Linked DNA regions of Homo sapiens: all the other regions are linked to region 3. Evidence: promoter capture Hi-C in human tissues and cell types (Jung and others, 2019). All regions are on one chromosome and are shown on one strand. Each heading gives the region's core, a stretch centred on a gene start or on the middle of the fragment in contact. The rest is flanking DNA. Distances are from core to core; before and after follow the strand shown.

Region 1 (4,180 bases), core at 528-3,027, 220 kb after region 3:
GCAACAGCTCCTATTTTGGTGACACATTTCCTACTTCTACACAACCCGAAGAGGCACTCCACACTGTCCGGTGGCCGCATGCAGCTCCACTCGGAGTCTGGTGCCAGAGTGAGGTCCGCAGACCATGCAGTCACAGCCCAGATGGGAGCTACTGGCAACACATAACCACTTAATTAATTAAAATAAGTCAAAACATTCAGCTCTTCAGCTACACCTGCCACATTAGCAACAGCCCCATGTGGCTGGCAGCTACCAAAGCGGACGGTTGCAGACGAGCAGATTCCGGCACCGCAGAAAGGTAGGCGCCGGACAGCGCTGCCCGCCTGGACCTGCCGTTCCCTCAGCCAGCACAAGTCGCTCTTGTAAGCCTGGGCCAGCTCCCCACATGACAGCTCCTGCTCCAGATGGAGCCGCGGTCTCCTCCCACCACACACTTGTCGATGCACTCAGCCACAGAGAAGTCACTGGTGTTCTAACAACCTGCAAATTAACGATCCGTCCCCATGCATCAGAAAACAACAAAGTTCAGAATATTGATTACTCTGAATCAATACCGTTCAGAATATTATTTGGCCATGCCAAAGTTGACTCTGATTACCCAGTAACTATTGTCACCTCAAGTCTTTCTTCAGTGTTAACAGTTAATATTAAAACAATCCATGGCCGGGTGCGGTGGCTCACGCCTGCAATCCCAGCACTTTCGGAGGCCAAGGCAGGTGGACTGCCTGAGCTCAGGAGTTCGGGACCAGCCTGGGCAACATGGGAAACCCTGTCTCTACTAAAATACAAAAAATTAGCCAGGCATGGTGGCGTGCGCCTGTAGTCCCAGCTACTCGGGAGGCTGAGGCAGGAGAATCACTTGAATCCAGGAGGTGGAAGTAGCAGTGAGCTGAGATTGTGCTACTGCACTCCAGCCTGGGTGACAGAGTGAGACTCCGTCTCAAAAACAAAACAAAACAAAACAAACAAAACCAATCCATTCAGGAACTCAGAGGTGGTAAAAGAGACTTAAAATACTTGTTCTTTTTTTTTTTTTTTTTTTGAGATGGAGTCTCATTCTGTTGCCCAGGCTGGAGTGCAGGGGTGCGATCTCGGCTCACTGCAAGTTCCGCCTCCTGGGTTCACGCCATTCTCCTGCCTCAGCCTCCCAAGCAGCTGGGACTACAGGTGCCTGCCACCATGCCTGGCTAATTTTTTTGTATTTTTAGTAGAGACGGGGTTTCACAGTGTTAGGCAAGATGGCCTCAAACTCCTGACCTTGTGATCTGCCCGCCTAGGCCTCACAAAGTGCTGGGATTACAGGCGTGAGCCACCGCACCCAGCCTGTTCTTTCTCTTTTTTTGAGACAGGGTCTCCTGTTGCCCAGGCTGGAGTGCAGTGGTACGAACATGGCTCACTGTAGCCTCAACCTCCTGGTCTCAAGTGATCCAGGAGCCTCAGCCTCCTGAGTAACTGGGATTACAAGCATGTACCACCATGCCCAGCTAATTTTTAAACTTTTTGTAGAGACAGGGTCTTGCTATGTTGTCCAGGCTGGTCTCAAACTTCTGGTCTCAAGTGATCCTCCTGCCTTGGCCTCCTAAAGTGCTGGGATTACAGACCTGAGCCACTGTGCCTGGCCTGCTTGCTCTGCTCTTGTATGTTGAGTGTCACATATCCCAAGTTAAAACCTGGTATGTAAGATTATCGATTCAACTTTCTGACATAGATGCAAGAAGTCACACACTGCCTTAGGGACAGCTCCTCAAGGCACACGTCTGGTCCTGTCACATCCACAGTCGCTGCATGCGCCCCACGCTGCTGTTCTCTGTTGCTTTTTACGTAATCTCTGGCTGACTCACTGGGCACGCTAACCCATTCCCCACTGTCACCATAAGCCCCAGCACTACGTGTCCTGTCTCAGGTGGACGGGGGCGGCCTTACCCTTCCATATAAGGTGTGCAATAGCGAGTGGCCAGTCCGATCAGCCACACAGCAGCACCGATGGGCCTGCCCGCCCTTTCCAAACTTGAGGCTCTGTCCACCAAATGCACGCTGATAAATCTTCCCATCTTCAGTTCTGCTAAACGGCATGCCATAATTTTCTAGCTGTGAAAGATAAAAACAAACAAAAACCTTAACACCTTAAAGGAGTCAAGATATTCGCAGCTAATCTACACTAAACAAGTTTAACACAAATCTGCAAACCCAAAGTAACCTATTTTATGAAAATGTCAACACTTCATCAAAGAGAAGTTTTCTTGTTACATATAATGCATAGTTCATAACGGAAAAAGACTCTTCTTGTGAACTTTGCTCATCACCATTCTTTTGGCTGCCACATCCGCCTCAATTGCTTACATTTTTTTCCAGGATTCTTTTGTACTAGAAACAGACCACGAGAACACCCAGAGCCTCCCGCCCATCACCTCGACCACGGCGGCGGGGGCCTGCTCCGTCATGTAGTGGATGGCATCCTGGTCCCCCAGCCAGTCGGAGCCCTTCACGGTGTCGTAGAAATGCCACCTCCAGTTGTCCTCCTCCATGTTCCCCAGAGCAGCATTGATTCCTCCCTGGAAACACCAACCACTCCTTACAAGCCACAAACAGGAGCGCCAACTTTGTCTTCCAGGCCCAAATCCACCCGCTGGGGGGATTCAGAGAAAGCCAACTACTCACACAGTGACTCCCAGTGAGGGCTGACCTCAGCAGAGGAGCAGCGAGACCCGACAGATTCCAGATCACAACCCCTCCCCGACTCGCCCAGTGATTCCATCCTTAGCCTCAGTCTCCTCATCTGCGTGGTGGAGACACAGGGAACTCCAGGAAGGGCTGACTGGAGCAGTGAGTGAAAGGCTACCTGTAATATGCTTATAACCTAACCTATCTGGCACAGAAAAGGTACTCAACAAATCTTTCCAGATAATTTTATTAACAAATCTTCCCAATGGCATTTACGGGCATGTGTTAAAGACTAGAAGTGCTTCCTGCCAAGTAATAAACTCCACACTCAGAGTCGCACTCCCCTGTACCCCAGCTTCCTTTGGCTGTGTGTGCCCACCACTGTCTTACCCCTCAGAGAGTCCCAGAAGACAGAAGCACAGGGACAAATGAAACCCTTGCCCTTTTCTTCCCCAACCTAAATTCTGATTCCTCCTCTTTAGGTGATCTCCTTTTCTTAAGGTGTTGGGGTGGCGGGGGTAGGTGGGGAAGGTAGTAGGCAAGATGGTCAGAGAAAACCCAAGTGTGACTGGAGTCTGAATTAGGAGTGACAACAAGTCTCCCGCCCTTCAAAGTCCCCAGGGAAGAGGCTCCAGGGAGAGACCCCTGAGAGGGTGAGCTGAGTAAGGCACAGCAAGAGGCCATGTGGCTGGAGCAGGGGGAGGAGGCAGGGGGCTGCCCAGGTAGAAAGTGCGAGGCTGCGCGGGACCTGCACGGAGTGGGAGCACAGTGGGGCACCTTTCTCTTACCTGTGCTGCAACAGTGTGTGACCTGGTAGGAAACAGCTTGGTAACACATGCTGTATTAAACCCTGCCTCAGAAAGGCCAAATGCAGCTCGCAAGCCTGCCCCTCCAGCGCCTACCACCACTGCATCAAATTCATGATCCACTACTGGATACTGAGCAGAAATCTGGAAAAGAAAAATTCACCTGTCAATCACATGTTCCACTATGCCAAACATGAAGAATCTTGTGACAGTGAAAGAGCTTGACAAAGATAAAAGGAGCAACTGCTGGGCACACAGGGCCTCCATCCTGTCCTGGGGCTGAGCCCTGAACAGTTCGGGGAGAGGTGGGCACATTCGCACCTGGAGAAGGGACTGACAATCAGATTCTACGAATGGTAGAGGGTCTATCCCATGGGGTCAGACTGAGGACCACAACTCTACTTCAGGGCCGTGCCTATGCTTATGCCTGAGAAGGTGCCAAGGAGTATTCAGTCGCTATTGTGGGCTTATAAGAAAACAACTTCTCAGCAAGTTTCAGTTTTTCAACAGAGATAGGCTCACTAAATACAAAGCAACCCACACCCGAGGGGCCCCACCATCCTATTTTCAGTAGGATTTTATCATCTATCACAGCAGATACTGTTCACTGGCCCCACCGTCCTATTTTCAGTAGGAATTTTATCATCTATCACAGCAGACACTGTTCATTTTATTTTAATTTATTGCTTTACTTGATCTAAATTTAAATCTAG
Region 2 (6,987 bases), core at 575-3,074, 200 kb before region 3:
ACGTGTGCTTAAATGCAGAGGCTTCTAGACGGGGGACCACGTGTGTTTAAATGCACAGGCTTCTAGACGGGGGACCACGTGTGCTTAAATGCACAGGCTTCTAGACGGGGGACCACGTGTGTTCAAATGCAGAGGCTTCTGGACGGGGGACCACGTGTGTTTAAATGCACAGGCTTCTGGACGGGGGACCACGTGTGTTTAAATGCACAGGCTTCTGGACGGGGGACCACGTGTGCTTAAATGCAGAGGCTTCTGGACCGGGGACCACGTGTGCTTAAATGCACAGGCTTCTAGACGGGGGACCACGTGTGCTTAAATGCACAGGCTTCTGGATGGGGGATGGGGGGCCATGTGTGTTTAAATGCAGAGACTTCTGGACGGGGGATGGGGACCCACGTGTGTTTAAATACAGAGGCTTCCAGATGGAGGAGGCCCACATGTGTTTAAATACAGAGGCTTCCAGATGAAGGCCACGTGCAGAGGCTTCCAGGCGGGGTGGGGGGGCCACGTGCGTTTAAACAGAGGCTGCCTGTGTTGTTTTGCTGTGTTTTTCTTCTCTAAAGAGGAAGCGTTGTGTGGGATCTCTGAGATGTTGGTTCCCATGAAACGGACAGTATGTACTTGTCAGACAAGTTCAGAGGCAGTTTTCGAAGCCGTCCCGGGCCGACTTCACTCGCAATTTAAAGATGCTGACAAGGCCCCTCTGGATGTGCACATCCTCACGTGGCTCTGCCCTCACACCAGGACTCCCGGAGGGCGGCTTCTGCCTGGGTGTGGCTCTCTGACCACCAGCTCCCTGTGCTAAGGATGCCAGCAGCCCGTGGGGAGGCCCTTGCAGCGTGGAGGGAGCCTGGGAGGATCCTGTCCCGTGAGGCCTCAGATGAGACGGTGGCCCCAGCCCACGGCTGAGACAGAGCCCCCATGAGGCCTCAGATGAGACGGCGGCCCCGGCCCACGGCTGAGACGGAAGGAGGGAGCCTGGCTGAGCTGAGCCTGAGGCCCAATACACAGAAATCCAAGGTGATAAATGCAGGTTTTCAGCTGCTGGTTTTGGGGTAACTTGCCCTGTAGCCCCAGCTCACCATGGGACACTGGCCGTCATCTCCTTCATAAAAGGAGAGTGGCCTCGGTTTTCCCCAGTTCGAGGCCCTGAGAGATGGGTCAGCAAGACAAAGTCACGTCCAGGCCTGGCTCCTGCAGCACCCGGCACTGCCCAGTGGTGGAGGGTCCCTTGGGCCCGGGGAGAGAAGGTGGCCAGCGCCACTGCTGTCTCCAAAGTGCTCCAGGCCTGTTGTGAGACAGGGCAGGCCGCGTTCCGGGGGTGGCCGGGTCCCGGGCAGGGAGTGGAGACATGGGGCTGCAGAGATGGCAGTTGGGACAGTGTGGCATCAAGGAGCTGCCCTCGTTCCTGGAAGTCAGAGCCATGTTTCCCCCAGTCACATGGACACAGACACAGCGCCAGGGCGGGCTCACCAGCTCCTTGTGTGTGTGGTGCAGCTCCGCCGTCACCTCGCTCATCTCCCGGGCGTGCTGCTGCTGCTGCTCAGCAAGGCGGCTTTGCAGGGACTTACTCTCCAGAGCCAGGGAGCCGACATCTTCACCCACCATCGCAGAGCTGTCCTGAGCTGCTGTGAATTCTTCAACAGATGACAAGATGTGTCTTGCCTGAGCTAGGAGTGAAAACCAAATATTACATTAGCACTTAGGCTTAAAGGATGAAATGTAAACAAAATCGGCTCAGTATGTTTTGAATCACACAGACGATGCCTCAAAAAGACGACAGGTAGGGAGAGGGGAAAGGGGTGTTGGCGCCACAAAACCACCTCAGGCTCTGTGCGTCCACACACGGGCAGGGTGGGAACTGAAGAAAGAGAAGAGGTGACCTCCAAGAAAAGGGGCAACCAGGGGCCGCCACGTCTCAAGGTTTCAGTGGCGCCGCCACAACTCGCTGCGCCTTCCACAAGCACCGACTGCCCTGTGTGGAAACCACCATGCAGACGACAGCTGGCAACTCCACACTGGGACAGTGGCCTGGGCCTGGGACAGTCCCCCCGCCACCGACGATGGCAAGCTCAGGAGGCTCCCACAGGACACCAGCCTAGGGAGAGGGGAGGTTTATGGGGCTGGGGTCCAGGTGGGCTGCGACTGCAGGGCGTCCTCATTCTAGGAGCTGAGGGGCTATAACACTGCAAGGCGCAGTCAGACAGCTCAGAGCCGTGCCCAGGGTCTGCGGGGAGAAGCACACTGGCTAGGCTCCTGAGGGACACACACAGCCACACCCCAGGATGCAGGACAAAGAGAAGGTGCCCCTGGGGACGCGGCATCTCCTGGTCTCCCAGTGTGATCCTGGATGAGGGAGGCCCCAGTGTGCTCATGTACGGGTTGCCTGGTAGAATCCAACAGACCCAAGTCCTCTCTGGGGAGGGACCACCCTCCTGGGTCCCACACCAACCAAAAGCTCTGCAATCCAGGCCCAGCACAGGCTACACGTCTGGGTCGGGGGAGAAGATGCTGAGCAGCTTCCAAACTCCAAATCCCCATGTGATCACAGCCATCAGAACCAAGCCCCTTTGGACAGCATTTTGAGCAAAATGAGGTGACAGGCCCCCCAACACCCCAGAGCACAGCGGGGGACCCACAGGCCCAGGCCCATGTGGTGTCTCCCGAGAGCCCTGGACACTGTGAGATGCAAAGACTGCCAGGGAGGGCCCAGGCGCGGGACCACCACACGCTCGTGGGAGGGGACATAGGAGACCTGGGGCTGAGATGACTCCTAGGTCACCACACGCAGAGGACCCCGGAACCCACACAGACGCTGCCTACAGGGCAAGAGCAGTGGCCGCCCTGACTCACCAAGGAATGCCTCGTTGCTGTGCAGGGACCTGCAGCCGCCCCAGCTCCTGTCCACCAGGTCCAAGAGCGTCTCCAGGAGCGCCGCCTGCAGGGCCGTCTTCTTCCCGGGTAGAGCCGAGTGTGACCCGGGAGACGGCTGTGATGGAAACAACAGCATGAGGCCAGCGAGTCAGTAACTGAGGTCCTGAATGCCAGCAGGTGCCCAAGCGCACCCTGGGATGCCCTCGCACCACGAAGGGGAGGACAGGTGCCCTGAGGCCCCAGCCCTGAGCCAGGTGGAGGGCGGCTCAGCAGTGCCTGCCCAGTGAGGCTTAGCCAGGTGCACCGGTCCTGGATGAGTGAGGTCTCGATGACAGGACAGGACGGGGCCCACACATTCCCAACTCAAGCAGGCCCCAGACTCCTCCCCTCAACCCAGACAGGGAAGCGGAAGACACATCCAGGCCGCAGTCAGAGCCTGTGTTCAAAAGGAGCTGCCCAGGAAGCAGCCTGCACCCACAGTCAGGCTGGTAGAGGGTGCCAGGCGCTGTCCCCAGCAATGGCCCGGAGTCAAACAATAACCCTGAAACAGACCGCCCACCTCCCCCATCTCTGCCTCCTTCCAGCTCAGGACCTGCCGGGGACGTCAAACACGCCCCACCCAGCTCTGGGACCCCCCCCCACCCCATGCTGCTACGGAGCTGCCTCTAGCTCCGGCCATGCCTCCCTTCCTGTCCCACAGTTCCGCACCTTCAAGCTCCTCTGCCTGCATGGGAGTCTGAAGCCCTCGTTGTGGCAAGTACCAAGTGAACAGCCCCTGCCTGTTCCCTTCTGGGTGGTCTGCACTCATGTCTACAGCAGGTGTGTCTCAACGCCTCTGACTGGGCCTGCGCCAGTTGTCCCCCTGACCTCTAGGTCACCCTGAGGGTGGAGTGACTCGGTCTCTCATCACAGCGACCTCCAGGATCCTCCCCTCACGAAAGGGTCATCAATGGCTCAGCCGGCCAAGATGCCCGATTCCAGCTTTGGAGACAAATGCCCTGTGCACCGTAAGGCAGAGTCCCCTCTCTCCACCACGGGGCTTCCACTCAGAACAGCAGCGCAGGACAGCGTGTGGCACAGAGGCACACGTCCAACAAAACGCAGCAGCAAGCACCCTGGAACCCTAAGTGTGATGATTCCCTTTATCCTGGGACACGGTCAGTGCCGTAGGCGTAATCACGGCACCGCCAAAGCCGTAACAGCCCCGCATCAGGGAGGGACACGGTCAGTGCCGTAGGCGTAATCACGGCACCGCCGTAACAGCCCTGCATCAGGGAGGGACACAGTCAGTGCCGCAGGCGTAATCACGGCCCCGCCAAAGCCGTAACAGCCCCACATTAGGGAGGCAGTGCCGTGGGCCTGCTGCTCCCCAGCCCTTCTCTCACCTCTCTGGTGTCGGTCACACCCCGAGACCTCTGCTCCTCAGTCTCCGAGGCCTCAGGCTGAGACAAGGTCCTCCCGTTCCTGCTTTCTGAGCTGTCCTGTCTGCTCAGGCTCTCCTTGGGCACGGAGGACCCATGAGTTCTCTCCGGGCAGCCCAAACCCTCCTGGTCCGAAAACGTCTGGAATCTTCCAACAGGCATTCTTCGCTTCCTGCACTTTCCGGGGGCTGGCAGGGGACCAGGCACCATTTCTCCTGACAAATCCAACTTCTGAGAAGAGGCCGAGTCCTCGGTATCCATGGAGTCTGAGATATAGAGAGGATGGGGCGCACGTCAGGCCAAATTCTCTGGGTGCAGTGTTCAGCACTGTAACTTTTAAAAGGCATGTGTGTGCCCATGTATATACACACATGGACACACACGCACACTTACATATGTACACGCACACCTATCCACGTGCATACATACATCCATACACCTGCACAAAGGCACATGCAGAGGGAGGGTGCCGAGGGAAGAAAGGGGCATACTGGGGCACACGTGCTAACACGCAAACTCTGGGGGAGTCTGGATGAAGCAGACACGGACCGCCCAGCTTCGCGTGTTCACCCCGTGATGACCGACGTGCAGTACGCTTCAACAACGCGTTCCAAACAACGTCTAAGCACACGCCCATCTCTGAAGACAGGTGAAGTGACAGACTCTGATGGTCCGTAAAGTGGTGGGTCCCGTGCACTGTACCGACCACTAAGCCCCCAGGACACACAAGACCCGGGGGAAGGCAAACTTGTCTGTGGAAGGACAATGAAGGCAGGAGAAGGCACAAAACGGGCACAGCCTTGGCCTCCACCACAGCCTGCTCAACTCAAGATGACCCATCACATCCTGCAGCGGCTGACAGACAACCTGGCTAGGTCCCCTGCCTCTCACCAGTTGGGCATGAGCAAGCTTCCAGGAGGCGCCAGGGTCACGCGAGACAAGGTTTCTCTTTTTCTTTTTTTTTTTTTTTTTTGAGTTGGAGTCTTGCTCTATTGCCCAGGCTGGAGTGTAGTGATGCCATCTAGGCTCATTGCAACCTCCACCTCCCAGGTTCAAGCGATTCTCATGCCTCAGCCTCCTGAGTAGCTGGGACTATAGGTGCCCGCCACCATGCCCAGATATTTTTGTATATTTAGTAGAGACCTGGTTTCACCATGTTGGCCAGGCTGGTCTTAAACTCCTGACCTCAAATGATCCGCCTGCCTCGGCCTCCCAAAATATTGGGATTATAGGCGTGAGCCACCGTGTCTGGCCTGCTCACGGCAGGAGGTTTTCTGATACTTATGCCACATAGGTGGCCATCACATGGTATCACGTGACACTCTTGGTTAACTTTTCTCGCCTTTGATTTTCAAAATGTAGCTATTGCCATAACCTGGGCCCATACACTTAAAAGTGTGTGTGCATTAGTGAGAGGGTGAGGGAGGGTGTGCACACACACACGTGCAGAGAAAAAGCACTTATTTACCAACCATGAATCTAAACCATGAATGGATTATAAATTTCAATGTGCTGCATTCTTTCCAAAGACATTTTGGAGAGTTCCACAAACAAATAAATACACAGAGAACAGGAGAAATTTCATAGTAAAAGCAAACGATGTGAAAAATATTTAACTACTTAAAAAGGAACTGAAGGGAGTAAAAGTTGACAGGGATTTCATGTTGCTGTAGTTCGAAGGAACCCCCCAAAGTTCCTAAGCTGGAAACTTATTGCCACTCTAACAGTATTAAGCGGAGGGCCTTTAAGAGGTGAACAGGTCACAGGGCCAGCCCTCAGGGAGGCAGGAATGCTGTAGCACAGGGCTGGGTTCCTGATAAAGGATGAGTCTGGAACAGGTCACAGGGCCAACCCTCAGGGAGGCGGGAATGCTGTATCGCAGGGCTGGGTTCCTGATAAAGGATGAGTCTGGAACAGGTCACAGGGCCAGCCCGCAGGGAGGCAGGAATGCTGTAGCGCAGGGCTGGGTTCCCGATAAAGGATGAGTCTAGCTCCATTTCTCTGTCTTGAGCTTGCTTCTGCCTGCACCATGCTTCTGCCTGTGCCATGGGAGGACCAGCACCAGGTGCCGGCACCGTGCTCTTGGACTTCCCAGCCTCCAGAACCATGAGCCACATAAGCTTCTGTTCTTTATAAATTACTCAGTCTGTGGTTTTCTGTTACAGCAACAGAAAACAGACTAAGACACGCGTAAGTACCTGGGTGTGGGGTGAAGTACGTGTGTGGCCTGGGGGCACGGGAGGCCTCTGGCTCCGCTCCGTACAGTGGCGGAAGCTCTCCACAGAGCTGGCTCCAAGGCATCTTCTCCAGACAGCACCCTCTGCAGCTGCTCCTCCTCGTCTCACGGCCCTGCTTCCCAGAGTCCCCACACTGGTACTGTACCAACTGCGGGCTCAACAGATGTCTGGATTCTATTAAAATATTGTAAATAAAATATTTCATAAAACATTGTAAAAGTTTTATTCCATCAAAAATTACATTTTAAGCTTCTGAATAGTGTATGGTATCTGTTAGACCGAGGGGTTAATCACGTGCTGGGTGACACTGAAATGAATCCACAGTGACTTCTAACAGCAAGAGAGCTTGGAACTGGGAACTGGCGCCACTCGCCTGCGAGACTCAGGACAAGGCTGCAAGAATCCAGCCGCATGAAGTGGAGCAAAGTCAGACAAAATGATGCACAAAACAGAAG
Region 3 (6,852 bases), core at 1,909-4,408:
ACGGAGGCCTTCTTCCGCGCTTCTCTCCTGCGATACTGCTCCACCTTGTCCAGCTGGTCCGGGCGCTGGAGCATCCCAGCAACCCTTTGCACTGCTGTCGCAACGGCCTCCCGGTCTGTCTCCTTCATGGTGAAAAAGCTGGTGGAATCCTCACACTGTTCATGCTAGGGGTGTTCTCTGTGCACTGCAGGAGTTGTTAGGACGGTAGAAATGTTAGGTACAAAACCTCCCCCAAACTATCAGGTGATCACAGTGGAGCTACAAGCAGAGCCTCTGAGATCATTAATCCAGGAAACCTCAAAGAAAGCTGAACTAGGATGAGGAACTCCTTGATAAGATAAACAAACCTTCGTAACACAAACATGCAGAAGTTATACCTTTAAGGGGAGAGCAGGGGCGTTTCACAGGCATGAGAGACATGGACATTGCGAAGATTCTAGATGTGGGTCCCAGACCACCCAGCATGTAGATGTCAGCCTCAAAGGCACATCTCTCCCCAAGACAGGGCTGGTTTCTCATTTCGGGAGCTTTCCCCCAGCACCTTGGCCAGGCCTGTGGGCAGCTGCACCAGGACCCTCAGTGAAGACAAATACAGCGTGGACAACTCCCCCGACCAGGTACCACAGCTGGAGGCCCAGCACAAGCCCCACAATTCCCACCCTATAAAAGTGACAATAGTCAGCCAGGCCCGGTGGCTCACGCCTGTAATCCCAGCACTTTGGCAGGCCGAGGCGGGTGGATCACGAGGTCAGGAGATCGAGACCATCCTGGCTAACATGGTGAAACCCTGTATCTACTAAAAATACACACAAAAAAATTAGCTGGGCATGTTGGTGGGTGCCTGTAGTCCCAGCTACTCGGGAGGCTGAGGCAGGAGACTGGCGTGAACCCCGGAGGCGGAGCTTGCAGTCAGCCGAGATCGCGCCACTGCACTCCAGCCTGGGCGACAGAGCGAGACTCCGTCTCAAAAAAAAAAAAAAGAAAAAAAAAGAAAAAGTCATTATTGTCTTGGGTATCCAAAACCCCATTTCCCCCTTTTTTAACTGTCCTAGAAAACATCATGCTTCCCTCCTTTATGCAGGCCCCGTGCAGACCACAGGTGCTCAGATGCCAGGCAAGCCTGCCTTCCATGCTCCCTCCACCATCGTCCTCCTCGGGGAGCTAACACAGCTGCTTGGTGAGCATCAGTCAATGAGGGAATCCGATACACCTGTTCCCCTTGACTTCAGCTGTCTGATTTTCATCTTCATGAATATTAAAAAGATTCACCTTCTCCTGGAATTTTTCATTCTCCATGCCCACATGCTTTCAGACACCTCTCTTCTCCTTTTTCATCTGGACCTACATTGCAACCTTTCCTTTCTCTTTATTTTCTGATTATGAAATTTGGCATACCAACGTAGAAAATCTGGACAGGACAAAAATACAAAGATGCCAGAGGCAACTCCCCTTAAATCCCATCATCTATGGGCAACTCCTCTTAAATCTTGCTACCCAGGGGCAACTTCCCTTAAATCTCACAATCCAGGGACAACTTCCCGTAAATCCCACCACTCAGGGGTAACCCCCGCTATATCCCACCACTCAGGGGCAACTCCCCTTAAATCCCGCCACCCAGGGACAACTCCCCTTAAATCCCGACACTCAGGGGCAACTCCCTCCAACAGGGCTTGTTTCCTTCCAGTTTTTTCCCTTTGAGTTTCTTTTAAAGCTAAGATTCCACTGCTTATATGACTTTGTAGGTGCACACTTTTGTTTTCTTATTTTGTTTGGACATTATCATCAGCATTTCCATTGACATTAAAGCCTGTATGATTTTGATTATAGGGCTGGATAATAACCCAAGAAGTGGACCCCCAGCCGCTCTGCTGGGGCACGCGGTGAGGTGGCTGCGCCCATCTTAAGGCTGGAGTGAAGTCTGTCACGCTGTGGGTGGAAGCCAAGGCAATGTGAGTGGAGAGCTGTGAAGCAGGGCTCGCCTTGGAGTCAGAATAAAGCTACTCATGTGGAAAAGGGGAAAATCTGGAGTTAAAAAACGCACCGCAGAGGCTTCCATCCCAGCCTGAAGACTAAAGATTTTGGGTCACAGAAGCCAAAGAGGAACTCAGAGACCATAAACAGAGACCCAGGTCCAGCCCCTACCAGGGCCTTTCTGACTGCCTTCCCCTGGCGCTGGCTCCGCTGTGAGCCTCTCCGCCGAGCGGGGGGACACCCTACTGCGGGGAACATCAGCACCCACGGAGACACCTGCGCCAGGGAGACACCTCTGCCGGGCAGACACCTCTGCCAGGAGGGACCCTTTACCGGGGGGACGCCTGCGCCGAGGGGAACACCTGTGCTGGGAGGCACCTCACGGAGGGGACACTCCGCTGGAGGACACCTGCACCTTGGAGGACACCTGCACCTTGAAAGCTTCCTAAAGGCCAGGAAGGACGCTTGTGCCCAGAAGGACACCTGCTCCGACGAGGGACACCTGGTCCGAGGGGGGACACCTGTGCCAGGAAGGACAACTGCGCCTGGGGGGGGACACCGTCAAGAGGACACCTGCACCAGGAAGTACACTTGTGCCTGGGAGGGACACCTGTGCTTGAGGGGACACTTGCACCTTGGAGAACTCCTGCGCCGAGGGGACACCTGCGCCAGGAAGGACACTTGTGCCTGGAGGGACATCTGCCCCAAGGAGGGACACCTGCTCCGAGGGGGGACACCTGTGCCAGGAAGGACACCAGCGCCTGGGGCGTGGGGGAAGACACTGTTAAGGGGACACCTGCACCAGGAAGGACCTTGTGCCTGTGGGGACACATGTGCCAAGGGGACACCTACGCCTGGGGGGGACACATGTGCCGGGGAGGACACCTGCGCCGAGGACACTCGCACGAGCGGGATACTCCACGGGGTCCGGAACGGCCTCCCCGCCCTCCAGGTCCCGGTCCGGCCTCCCCCTACGCGCCCCCGCGGAAGCCAGAGACAGGGAGAGCAAGGATGAAAGACGGCGACCACCTCCCAAGGACCCGCCGGCCGTCAGGACCTGCCACCGACTCACCCTCTACGGCTACGCCGCCGCCGCCGCCGCCGCCGCCGCCGCCGCCGCCGCCGCCGCCGCCCCCGCCGCCCCCTCCGCCTTCGCTGCCTCCGCCTCCGGGGTCCCGGCCGGAAGTGGACAGCGCGCGGGCACTTCCGCTTCCGGCAACGGCGCCGGAAGCACGGGTCCGGGCCCTCCCGCGGGGCGGGTACTCGTCTCCCGGCCGAGCGACTTCAGCTCGGGGACCTGCCCCATGGCCGCTCCCCAGCAGGACAGGGAAACCGCCGAGGTGGGGGGCTTCTTGTCCGTCCCAGCCCCCCCAACTCAGGCCCTCTCGCTGCCCCTGGCGACCACCGCGTGCGCCCTTCCCCAGGGCGGGCGCAGTCCTGGACGCCTCCGCCGAGCGTGACTGCGTGCATTTTCTCTCCTTTCCCTTCCCAACCTGCGGAGAGAAGACAGCCCCAGAGCCGCTGTCTCCATCCTCTGCTGATGCCTGCTGTCTTTATGTTGGCCTCGTCGTCCGCACTGCAGTGTGGCAGGGGCGTCCCTCGTTTCCCGCGGACTGAGGTGGGCGCCGGGCATTCAGTAAACGAAGAAACCAAAGCGGAGAAGGTTGGGAATCAAACGTCTGTCATACCTGCCACCAGCAGACAAGCGGCTTTGGGTACCTCCTGGACCCAAAGACGAACTCAGCCCCTCCAGGAGCGCAGTCATTGGCACCCTCGTGGGAACAATGCCAGTGGGATGGGTGGCCACCGGATGTTTCCGGGGCCCCTCAGAGGCCCAGCAGCGCAGGTCTTGGAGAATGAATGTGGGTCACTGGGCCGCGCTGCAGAGGGCCGGTCCTGAGTCGCTTCCTGGAGGAGAGGCCCATGGCCAGCACTTGGCTTCGCCTGGAGGAAGAAGCACGTGCTAAACCACGAGCGTTCAGGGTTTGTCTGTTTGATAAAAGATGCTGGCTTTGACACACCAACTGACAAAGTCTTTCATAGGTTGGAGCTGCTAGGTTGTGCCCCTGCCCCTCCTGAAAATTAGCCACACGAAAGGAAGGGTCTGGAAGGTGGCAGGGAAGCCAGCAGAGACCAGGGAAGTGGCAGCAGCATGGGGCAGGGGCACACAGGAAGGAGATGGAGCTTGCGGGAGCCCCCACTGCCACTCCGACAGGGAGCCCTGCCCCGTGCCCTGCTGATGTTGACACTGACCCCGGCTCTATTATTTCAGTTTTTCCTTGTAATTTCTGAAAATCTAGCAACAAGTTGAGCAATGAAAAAAAGTAAAAAAGTTAAAATTGTGTTAGAAATTATGACTGTAAAGAAATTTTGAAACTAATGAAGAAAAAATTGCCAAAATTGCCAAAGCTTTTAGGACTCTTAAAAATATAGTAACATTGAGTATTATGAACTAAAGACTCATACTATTATATCAGTGTCTGGTAGTGAATTTGGATGGAGGACTGTCTAGTAACTTCTTAACAAAACATTGATTAGAAGTCTTTCTTGGCGGGGCGCCGTGGCTCACGCCTGTAATCCCAGCACTTTGGGAGGCGAGGCAGGTAGATCATGAGGTCAGGAGATCGAGACCATCCTGGCTAACATGGTGAAACCCCGTCTCTACTAAAAAAAATACAAAAAAACTAGGCAGGTGTGGTGGTGGGCCCCTGGAGTCCCAGCTACTCGGGAGGCTGAGGCAGGAGAATGGCGTGAACCCGGGAGGCGGAGCTTGCAGTGAGCCAAGATCGCGCCACTGTACTCCAGCCTGGGCAACAGAGCGAGGCTCCGTCTCAAAAAAAAAAAAAAAAAAAAAAAAAAAAAAAAGGTATTTATTGGCTGGGCGCAGTGGCTCCTAACTGTAATCCCAGCACTTTGGGAGGCTGAGATGGGCAGACCCCTTGAGCCCAGGAGTTTGAGACCAGCCTGGGCAACATGGTCTTTTTGGTAGGAACCCCATCTCTACCAAAAAAAACCCCACAAAAATTAGCCAGGCATGGTGGTGCATGCCTGTAATCTCAGCTCCCTGGGAGGCTGAGGCAGGAGAATGGCTTCAACCCGGGAGGAGGAGGTTGCAGTGAACTGAGATGGCACCACTACACTCCAGCCTGGGTGACAGAGGGAGAATCTGTCTCAAAAAAAAAAGTTTCTTGACTTCTGTTTTTGGCAGACCATGTTCTGCGAACACCCAGGAGCACTGCTGAGTGCAAGCATCATGTCGATTGCACAAGTGGATTCACGAACAGGCAAGGACGTGACCAGGGACAAATGTGGGAAGGGGAGAGGACGTGAATCAGAAGCAGAGATGCTTGCCGTCCTACAGCAGGCAGGTGGGTGGGTAGGGTGCGAGTTCTGCGGCCCAGGGGTTGGGTTTTACACTGAAGCAGGACAGATGATGAAGCTAAGGCTCCCAGCAGGTGGGAGGTGGACGGCGACTCCCATGTGAAGCACAGATGTGCAAGGGATGCATCCTCAGTGAAAGCGTGGACTAGGAAAACAGCAACAGCCTGGAGACTGTTCCTAAACTCAGCCCTCGGCGGAAGCCAACCCAGGGTCATTGCTAGAGGGATCCTCCTCCACCTTGACAGGAGCAAACTCGAGGGGGAGGGAGGGGAGGGCACTGAAGCACCCACAGTCCTGACCCTGCTCTGGGAGAATAGAGACCGTGCTTAGCTCCTGCTTAGACCTTGTTAAATGCCCACATTAAGGTTAGCCACTACAGAAATAGAAACAGGAAGAGAGAAAATGCAGGCAACAGCACAGAGACTGCAGGCAAGGAGAAGATGAGGACCCTGTGTTGAAATGTATCAGTAATGAGAACACAAGTAAGTGGATTAGAAACAGTGAAACATTCATAGGCGAACATCTAAAGCATCAAGAAACAACGATTAGAACTGGAGGCTTTTCACACGTGGGTCAGCCAGGCCCGAGAAGCTGGTGTGGGGATATGAATATCAAACAACATGGGTTTTTGGTCAAAAGCCACTGTCAAAGATAGTTATTTTCCTAAGATGCAAAATGCATAAGCCATAAAGAATAAAATAGAAAAGTTGCTATATTAAAATCTTAAACTCTTGTGGGATATAATTTTTAAATCCTTAAGTGAAAAGCCAAGCCACAGACTGAGGGAAAACATTGTCAGCATCTGTAACTGACAAGAAAATTGCTATCCAGAATAAAAACAGAACTCCTGCAAATTGATCTAAAAGGGCAAACAAGTGCAGCAAGAAACGGGTAAAGGACAAGAGCCACTGGCTCCGGGGAATAAGCTGCTTCCCTCGGCCTTCAGGGAGACCTTGTCCCCACACCCTCCCCACGGGGCCCTGCTGAAGCCTCTGAGCCATGACTAGGGTGTCCGTTGACCTGACCAGACCATGAGCCATGACCCAGGCCCTGCTCTATTGTCAGCCAGACCTCACTGCGGCCATGCAGCCTCCCCCACTCGCTATTCAGCTCCAGCCGTCCATACGTCCTGCATAAAACTGCCCCCAAAGACCTGGGCCACCCCCAGCCCCAGCTCTGTGCACCTGCAAAGCACCGGTCCCCTCCATGCCCCGCAGAGTTTACGGGGTTCTCATGGTCACGTTCAGCTGCCTGCACCCCTTCCCCCTGCACACGCACACACCGCACATCACACATGTTCAGACGCCAGCTCTGGGACAGCACTGATGTCTGCATCGTTTTCTCCTGAATGCGTCCCCAGCACTGGTGCAGGGCCTGATACTCAACAAGGACTAAAAATATGCCGAATGAATAAACAAAATGCACATAAAACAGCTGCCGTTTCATCCCTTCAGAAGCCCAAGACTGAAAAAGTCTGTCCACACAGGTGCCAGTGTGGGG
Region 4 (6,796 bases), core at 2,946-5,445, 220 kb before region 3:
CCCTGACGGCGCCCACACGGCCCCCTCTCTGTGTGCTTGTCGGTACTTCCCTGACGGCGCCCACGCGGACCCCTCTCCGTGTGCTTGTCGGTACTTCCCTGACGGGGCCCACGCGGACCCCTCTCCGTGTGCTTGTCGGTACTTCCCTGATGGGGCCCACGCGGACCCCTCTCCAGTGTGCTTGTCGGTACTTCCCTGACGGCGCCCACACGGCCCCCTCTCTGTGTGCTTGTCGGTACTTCCCTGACGGCGCCCACACGGCCCCCTCTCTGTGTGCTTGTCCGCACTTCCCTGACGGCGCCCACACGGCCCCCTCTCTGTGTGCTTGTCGGTACTTCCCTGACGGCGCCCACACGGCCCCCTCTCTGTGTGCTTGTCGGTACTTCCCTGACGGCGCCCACGCGGACCCCTCTCCGTGTGCTTGTCTGTACTTCCCTGATGGGGCCCACGCGGACCCCTCTCCGTGTGCTTGTCTGCATGCACGTGTCTTCTCTGGTGGTGTCTGCTTCAAATATTCTGCCCGTCTTTTCACATGGATTTTTTTTCTTACTGCTGAGTTTTAAGGTTCCTTTGTGTATCTCAGAGACAAGTCCTTTCTCAGGCATGTCTCCTAGTCTGTGGCTTGTCTTCTCATTCCCTTAACGGTGTCTTCTGAGAGCAGAGTTTCGAACGTTTTGATGAAGTCTAGTTCATCCATTTTTTCCACTATAGGCCATGTTTTGTTGCCATTTCTAAGAAATCTTCGCCTAACCCCAGGTCACAGAGATCTTCTCTTTGGTGTTCTTCTAGAAGTTTTAGTTTCATAATTAGGACCGTCATCTATTTTGAGTTAGTTTTGTATATAGTGTGCAGTATAGACCAAAGTGCATTTTAATTTGCACAGGGATCACCAGTTGCTCCAGCTCCACTTGTGGAAGAAACAGTCCTTTCTCTCTGGCTTGCCTCTGCACCTGTAGACATCGGGGGGGCAGCATGCATGTGGCTGAGCCAGACTCCCCCTGGGCTGCGGGGCTGGCCGCGTGCCCGTGCCCACGTCGCTGCCACTTTGCAGTCAAGCCTCGATGAGCTTTGGAGTTGGGTAGTCAGTCTTCTGACTCTGTTCTCATTTCTTGAAATCGTTTTGGCTATTCTAGGCCCTCTGCTCACTGACTTCTGGAAAGGCTTGCTGGGGTTTTATGGGTCATTTGTCCCCTGACTCTTGGTCACTGTGGATTCTGCAGCTGGGAGTGCCCTCGGAATGCTTGGCCTGCTGGGTGCAGCCTTTCTCGCGCTGTCCAGAGGCTTCCCTGGTGAAATGCAGGTGCCTTTTGCAGAGCTGAGCCTCATCCACAGGATCTCTTGTTTTAAACACTGAAAAACCCCACTTTGGGTTAGTTGTGGTAGATCTGGTCAGAGGAGAAAAATGTTTTCTAATTAGAATTATTATATAAAAACCAAGAGTCAGTTTAGAACCCTCTAAAATTGCCTGAATGGCCTGTGGTGGGAGGATGTTGTAAGGCGTGGACTGTGTTTAGATGTGGCGTGTTGTGTGACCAGAAGCTTCTCATGGCACCTCCGGCCCACCGGGCTCTGCACCTCTGAGGCCAGAGCAGTGCAAGGGCACAGCGGGGCCGCCTGGCGGGTTTTGGAGCCAGGGCATCTGAGGCGTGGGCCTGCGCCCATGCTGCCAAGTGTCCGGGGGCGGCAGCCCCTCCTAACCATGTTCCTGTGTGGGGGACACCTCCACCTAGGACCCCAACACACACAGGCAGAGCCGGGGCCCCAGCAGGTCCTAGGACCCCCAGCTCCCGGCGCAGCTGGGCGGGGCTGTGGTGGCCCCGGGAGGAGGAGGTGGGCTCCGCTGCCTAATGGCCTCCGGCACTGCCCCAGCAGAGTGCAGACCCGCACACACCCTGTGTCAGAGCGGCCTGCAGGGCCGTGTGAGCATCCAGCTTTATAGAGGACCTGCTTCCGCCAAGCTTTCTTCCAAGACAGTTTGGATTTGCAGTGCTACCAGGGCGGCCGCCTGTGGGTGAAGCCTGTGGGCTGCTGGGCCATGGCTGTCCAGCTCTGCTCAGACCCACGCGTGGGGAGGGCAGCCCTGGGCCGGCCCGCGCCCAGCCCTAAGTCGCCTGTGCCCCTGTAGAGGGAAGTCTTGCCGGACCATCACCTTTGAGCAGTTCCAGGAGGCGCTGGAGGAGCTCGCCAAGAAGCGATTCAAAGACAAGAGCAGCGAGGAGGCCGTTCGCGAGGTGCACAGGCTCATCGAGGGCAAGGCGCCCATCATCTCAGGGGTGACGGTGAGCAGGGCGGGGATGGAAGGCGGGGCCTGGAGGGGGTGGGGGCGGGGCCTGGAAGGTGGGTGGTGCCTGGGGGAGGGGTGGTCAGGAGGGACATGGATTGGGGGCGTGACCTGGGGGGGGTCCTGGGAGGCGTGGTCAGGAGGGCGTGGCCTGGTGTGGGGTCTGAGGAGGTGTGGTCAGAAGGGGCATGAATGGGGCATAGCCTGGAGGGTGAGGCCTGGGGAGGCGTGGTCAGGAAGGGCATGGACTGGGAGTTGGCCTGGGAGGGGGTGGGTGGGTCCTGGGAGGCATGGCCAGGTCGGCGTGGCCTGGGGGGGTCCTGGGGAGGCTTGGTCTGAAGGGGCATGGATTGGGGGGGCATAGCCTGGAGGGTGGGGCCTGGCTGTTCTGACAGCCCCTTCCCTCTGAGGGTGCAGGTGGTGGGGTCCCCAACTACATAAACACCAGGTGGACCTGGGCAATTGTTAGGGTTGTGGCACCCCGCAGGCCCAAGGCTGCCCCAGGGTCAGGAGAGGTAAAAATAAGAATTAAAAGGGGCATAAATCCCAGGGTTTATGCCCCTTGCCCAGTGCCCCACCGCTGGGAGACCTGCCCAGGGCACAGCCATTTCACTTGCTGGCCTCACCTGGCTCGCAACTCACCTGCCCCCTTCCTCCTGCTCCTCTTGCAGAAAGCCATCTCGTCGCCCACAGTGTCGAGGCTCACGGACACCACCAAGTTCACGGGCTCCCACAAGGAGCGCTTCGACCCCTCTGGCAAGGGCAAGGGCAAGGCTGGCCGCGTGGATCTGGTGGACGAGTCAGGCTATGTGTCCGGCTACAAGCACGCAGGCACCTACGACCAGAAGGTGCAAGGGGGCAAGTAGCCCCCGCTCCATGCCTCGCGGCACTGCCGGTGTCCCCAGAGCAGGGACTCTGTCACCTCGCACTTCATTACATTCCTGTACTAACTGGGGCAGAACTCAGACGGGTGCCCCAGAGGGGGCTGGGGGGCGGCCAGGCCCAGGCCTCCCTCCTGCCCCTCCTCCTACCGGATGCCCCCAGCACTCCCCTCTCAAACCAGGTTTGGGCCCCAGTTCGCTGACCCTCCTAATACACCTGCCTCGTCCTCAGCCATTTCCAAAGTGTCTCGCGGATCACACCACACTGGGCACGTGGTTTGCAGGTCAAAGGGGCGTTTTAAAGCAGCTGGCTGTCATGGCAACAGGAGGCTGTGCTGACCTCCTGAGCGGCAGACACCTTCCAGGAGCCCTGAGGGTGGCAGGAGCTAACCCCAACCAGCAGGCAACTAACACGGAATTGGCCCCACACCGGACGTGGGAGGTGTCTGTGGGGCCCGAGGCCTGTCCTGTGTGCAGCGGACACCACGGGGCCTTCCTGCTTTCCTGGGCAGAGGGCAGAGTGAGGCCACCTGGCGGGGGTGCTGGGCGCCTGGCACATGTGTGGGGAAGCCGGTCACATGGACACACCTGTGCACACATGCCTACAGGCCAGCTCTGTGCCAAGGGCAACCTAGGTAAAACGAAAGCCGTCAGGGGCAGTGGGCGGCTTCCCGGCTGACCACAGTGGCTTGGACTGTGAGGGTAGAGTAGGCTCGCTTTGCTTTCCTGAGAAGATGCGGTGGCTGCCTATGTTCTCAGAGCGGGTCTGGGAAGATTCAGAATGTCCGGTCCCTGTGGTGTTGCCAGGCAAGAGACACGAAGTGCCGAGACACTCCTCGCCTCACCGCGTGACAGAGCCTCTGCCCGGCCCTCCCGTTCGCCCGTCCTCACTAGCTGCACCCTGTTTGCTCGCAGACCTCCCATTGCCACAGCCCAAGCACCTTCTTCAACTCTCCCAAAATGGCTCAGCCTAACCTCTCCTGGCCAATCCCCCCCGCCGGAGAGCAGGACACTAGGGAGGACCCCCAGTCCTGCAGTGTCTGTGGGGGTTTCTCTGCCAGCAGGGGGCTGAGCAGAGCCCATCCAGGACACTCCACACTGCCAGGACACACCCAGGCGGCCCGCCCTTGCCTGTCTGCACCTGGGGAGAAGCCGGCGCTCCTGCTCCCTCCTGGGGAGGCTGACGGGTGTGGCCACCCGCTGTCACAATGGCACACTGCCACTGTCCCTTGGCACGCACACAGCCACAGCCACACGTGTGACCTGCTGGGCCGTGGTTCTGGAGTCTACCTGCGGATGAGCCTGCGGCAGTCCTGGGGAAACTTTTCCAGAGCCTGTTAGCCCGTGGCTACGGTCAGGCTCTGGCCAGGGCAGAGGGCTGCCCAGGGCCAGGCTCACAGTACAGGAGGGTGGCGAGGCCCCTCCCTCACTGGCACGCATGAGCACCACCCGCCTCCCCGACTCCCAAGAGTGCACCTGCTGCGGCCACAGCTCCGTGGAAGGACTCCCCCTACCTGAGCAGAGCAGAAGCCCCAGGGCGGAGCTCCCAGCCAGCATGGTCCGCTGAGGGCTGGGGGGCGGTCTCCGAGGCCCCTCAACAGAGAAGCCTCCACCTGAGGATGGGGAGGACCTGGCAGGCAGCTTCCACGGCAGGGCTGGGAAGTTCAGTGCCTGGAAATAAAGAGCAAGGAAAAATGGACCTCAGGCTTCGTGGCTCCTTTAGGATGTCACCTCACCGGCCTGGGGAAGGCGGGGGGTGCCCAAGCCCAGCCCTGTGCCCCCGCTGAACCTGGCTGGACCGCGTGTGAAAGGCAGAACTAACGTGCGGAAACATTTGAAAACAACTCTGAATGTGCGGTTCGGAATCACCCGATCACAGACGAGCGGTCACCGGAATCGCCCGGTCACAGACGAGCAGTCATCGGACTCACCCGATCACAGACGAGCGGTCACCGGAATCGCCCGATCACAGACGAGCGGCCACCGGAATCGCCCAATCACAGACAAGCAGTCATCGGAATCACCCGATCACAGACGAGCAGTCATCGGACTCACCCGATCACAGACGAGCGGTCACCAGACTCGCCCGATCACAGACGAGCAGTCATCGGAATCACCCGATCACAGACGAGCAGTCATCGGACTCACCCGATCACAGACGAGCGGTCACCAGAATCGCCCGATCACAGACGAGCAGTCATCGGAATCACCCGATCACAGACGAGTGGCCACCGGAATCACCCGATAACAGCCCATCACAACTCCAAAGCCCTTGTGTTGAAAAGGCCGAGGACGAGTGGTCACCAAACAGGGTGGCTCCCCAGGTCCCGAAGCCTGAGACCCGGAAGGCCCTGGCACCCTTACACCCTCGGACTCCTGCCCTCCTCGGCCTCCCTGGCCCCAGCGCGGCTCCACCCTGGGCTGCGTCTCCTGGTCACAGGCTGCGTTTCTCCTTTCTGTCCGTGGGCAGCCCAGTCCCCACAGTCACGGCCAAGCCACGCAGAACGAACATGACTCCAGAGGACCTCGCCCTGGAGCTGAGCCTGGCGCCGGGTCAGGACGGAGGGAAGGGCGGGTTGGGGTCCGCGGGTCCTCACACCGCACGGCAGGCACAGAGGCTCGCCAGGCCCTGATCCGGTCTGTGGGGACGAGGGACACTGAGGAGAGGTGCTGGGCACCAGGACGCTGCCTCCTGGTCCCTGGTTGGCCTCAGACAAGCACGGCCTCGAGAAAAGAGCCAAGCGCATCGGGAGCACACCAGAAACCGGCCCTGAGCACGAGAAGAGCCTCCGCCCGGCCCGGGCACCACCCGACCTCGCAGGGAGCAGGCCCTGTCACCGACGGGTCACCTCGCCCACACGGCCAGCACCGACTCACCACAGCCCTTCCCAGACCTGGCTGGAGTGGCCGGAGCGGCGGGGCTCATGGCTCCCATCTTGGCCCCTGGAGGTGAGCTCATTCACAGAAGTGGTCCCTTCACTCTGAGAGAGAAAATCGTGGCGTGCATCCCAAACCCTAGGCCACGCCTGTGGGTTTCGTGAATGAGATCGAGGCTGCTGTGGCACCCTGCCCGTCCTGGCCTGGAGCACCCTGGGATCCTGGAGGGAGAGGCCCCACGCCCCCACTCTCCCTCCACACTTCCAGGGTTGGTGCCCACGAGTTAGAGGCACGCCCTCCCCCAGCGGCCCTCAGGCTTTTCTCAGACATGCGGGAGCCAGGAGAGCACCCTTCTCCACTCAGCTCCAAAGCGAATCTTTGAAAACACCCACTCGGCTCCCATCTCTGTCACCTAGCCAGGAGGGGTAGCAAAAATAAAGTCACGAGGACATAGTGGTCACCACTGTCAGTTACAACTTGTCTGTGGAATCCGTAATTGCATCTGTGTGCCGCCTCCGAACACAGAACATTGTTTGGACGGCAGCCCCACTGCACATAACAGACCCGTGCATCTTCCTCAGTCAGTTTCTGAATATTGTGAATTCAGGCAGGTGTGTGTTCTCTTCTGCATGTTTTTATGCACTGCCAATTAGCTTCTACTAACCACGGTTCAACAGAAAATAAATGTGTATTTGTGAATAACAAACTGCACAACCTGCAAACCAGGAGAGAGGGACAGGTTCTGTCAGGGGTGACA

The links. Contacts are between HindIII fragments. The study calls those that stand out against the background at their distance.
Region 1: a fragment that was not itself captured here is called in contact with the fragment with the promoter of EXOC3 in region 3 in 1 of the 25 tissues and cell types used here (dorsolateral prefrontal cortex).
Region 2: a contact is called between a fragment that was not itself captured here and the fragment with the promoter of EXOC3 in region 3, in 3 of the 25 tissues and cell types used here (dorsolateral prefrontal cortex, pancreas and spleen).
Region 4: a contact is called between a fragment that was not itself captured here and the fragment with the promoter of EXOC3 in region 3, in 1 of the 25 tissues and cell types used here (dorsolateral prefrontal cortex).

Annotation. Positions count from the first base shown.
Region 1 is chr5:223,791-227,970 of GRCh38, reverse strand. SDHA (succinate dehydrogenase complex flavoprotein subunit A) reads right to left here. Exons shown (of 15, transcript NM_004168.4): 3 at 3,450-3,611; 4 at 2,409-2,552; 5 at 1,924-2,088. Among named protein-coding and RNA genes, the nearest start is that of SDHA, 7.6 kb to the right of the region's middle. The HindIII fragment of the contact is 6,814 bases long and covers 1-4,180 here.
Region 2 is chr5:635,091-642,077 of GRCh38, reverse strand. It overlaps CEP72 (centrosomal protein 72), which reads right to left. Exons shown (of 12, transcript NM_018140.4): 6 at 6,494-6,706; 7 at 4,260-4,561; 8 at 2,854-2,989; 9 at 1,474-1,670. Among named protein-coding and RNA genes, the nearest start is that of CEP72, 26 kb to the right of the region's middle. RefSeq lists an enhancer at 4,832-5,001. The HindIII fragment of the contact is 9,549 bases long and covers 1-6,598 here.
Region 3 is chr5:439,482-446,333 of GRCh38, reverse strand. It overlaps EXOC3 (exocyst complex component 3), which reads right to left and starts at 3,158. Exons shown (of 13, transcript NM_007277.5): 1 at 3,044-3,158; 2 at 1-184. The coding sequence starts at 128. EXOC3-AS1 (EXOC3 antisense RNA 1) reads left to right here and starts at 3,174. Exons shown (of 1, transcript NR_126522.1): 1 at 3,174-4,499. RefSeq lists enhancers at 2,494-2,583, 2,634-2,763, 3,534-3,643, 3,664-3,713, 5,297-5,356 and 2 more and a silencer at 3,064-3,453. The HindIII fragment of the contact is 5,164 bases long and covers 1,095-6,258 here.
Region 4 is chr5:661,453-668,248 of GRCh38, reverse strand. TPPP (tubulin polymerization promoting protein) reads left to right here. Exons shown (of 4, transcript NM_007030.3): 3 at 2,126-2,279; 4 at 2,953-6,796. The coding sequence ends at 3,147. It also overlaps a transcript of CEP72 not described here. Among named protein-coding and RNA genes, the nearest start is that of TPPP, 29 kb to the left of the region's middle. RefSeq lists enhancers at 2,609-2,778, 4,196-4,365, 5,667-5,836. The HindIII fragment of the contact is 4,891 bases long and covers 1,750-6,640 here.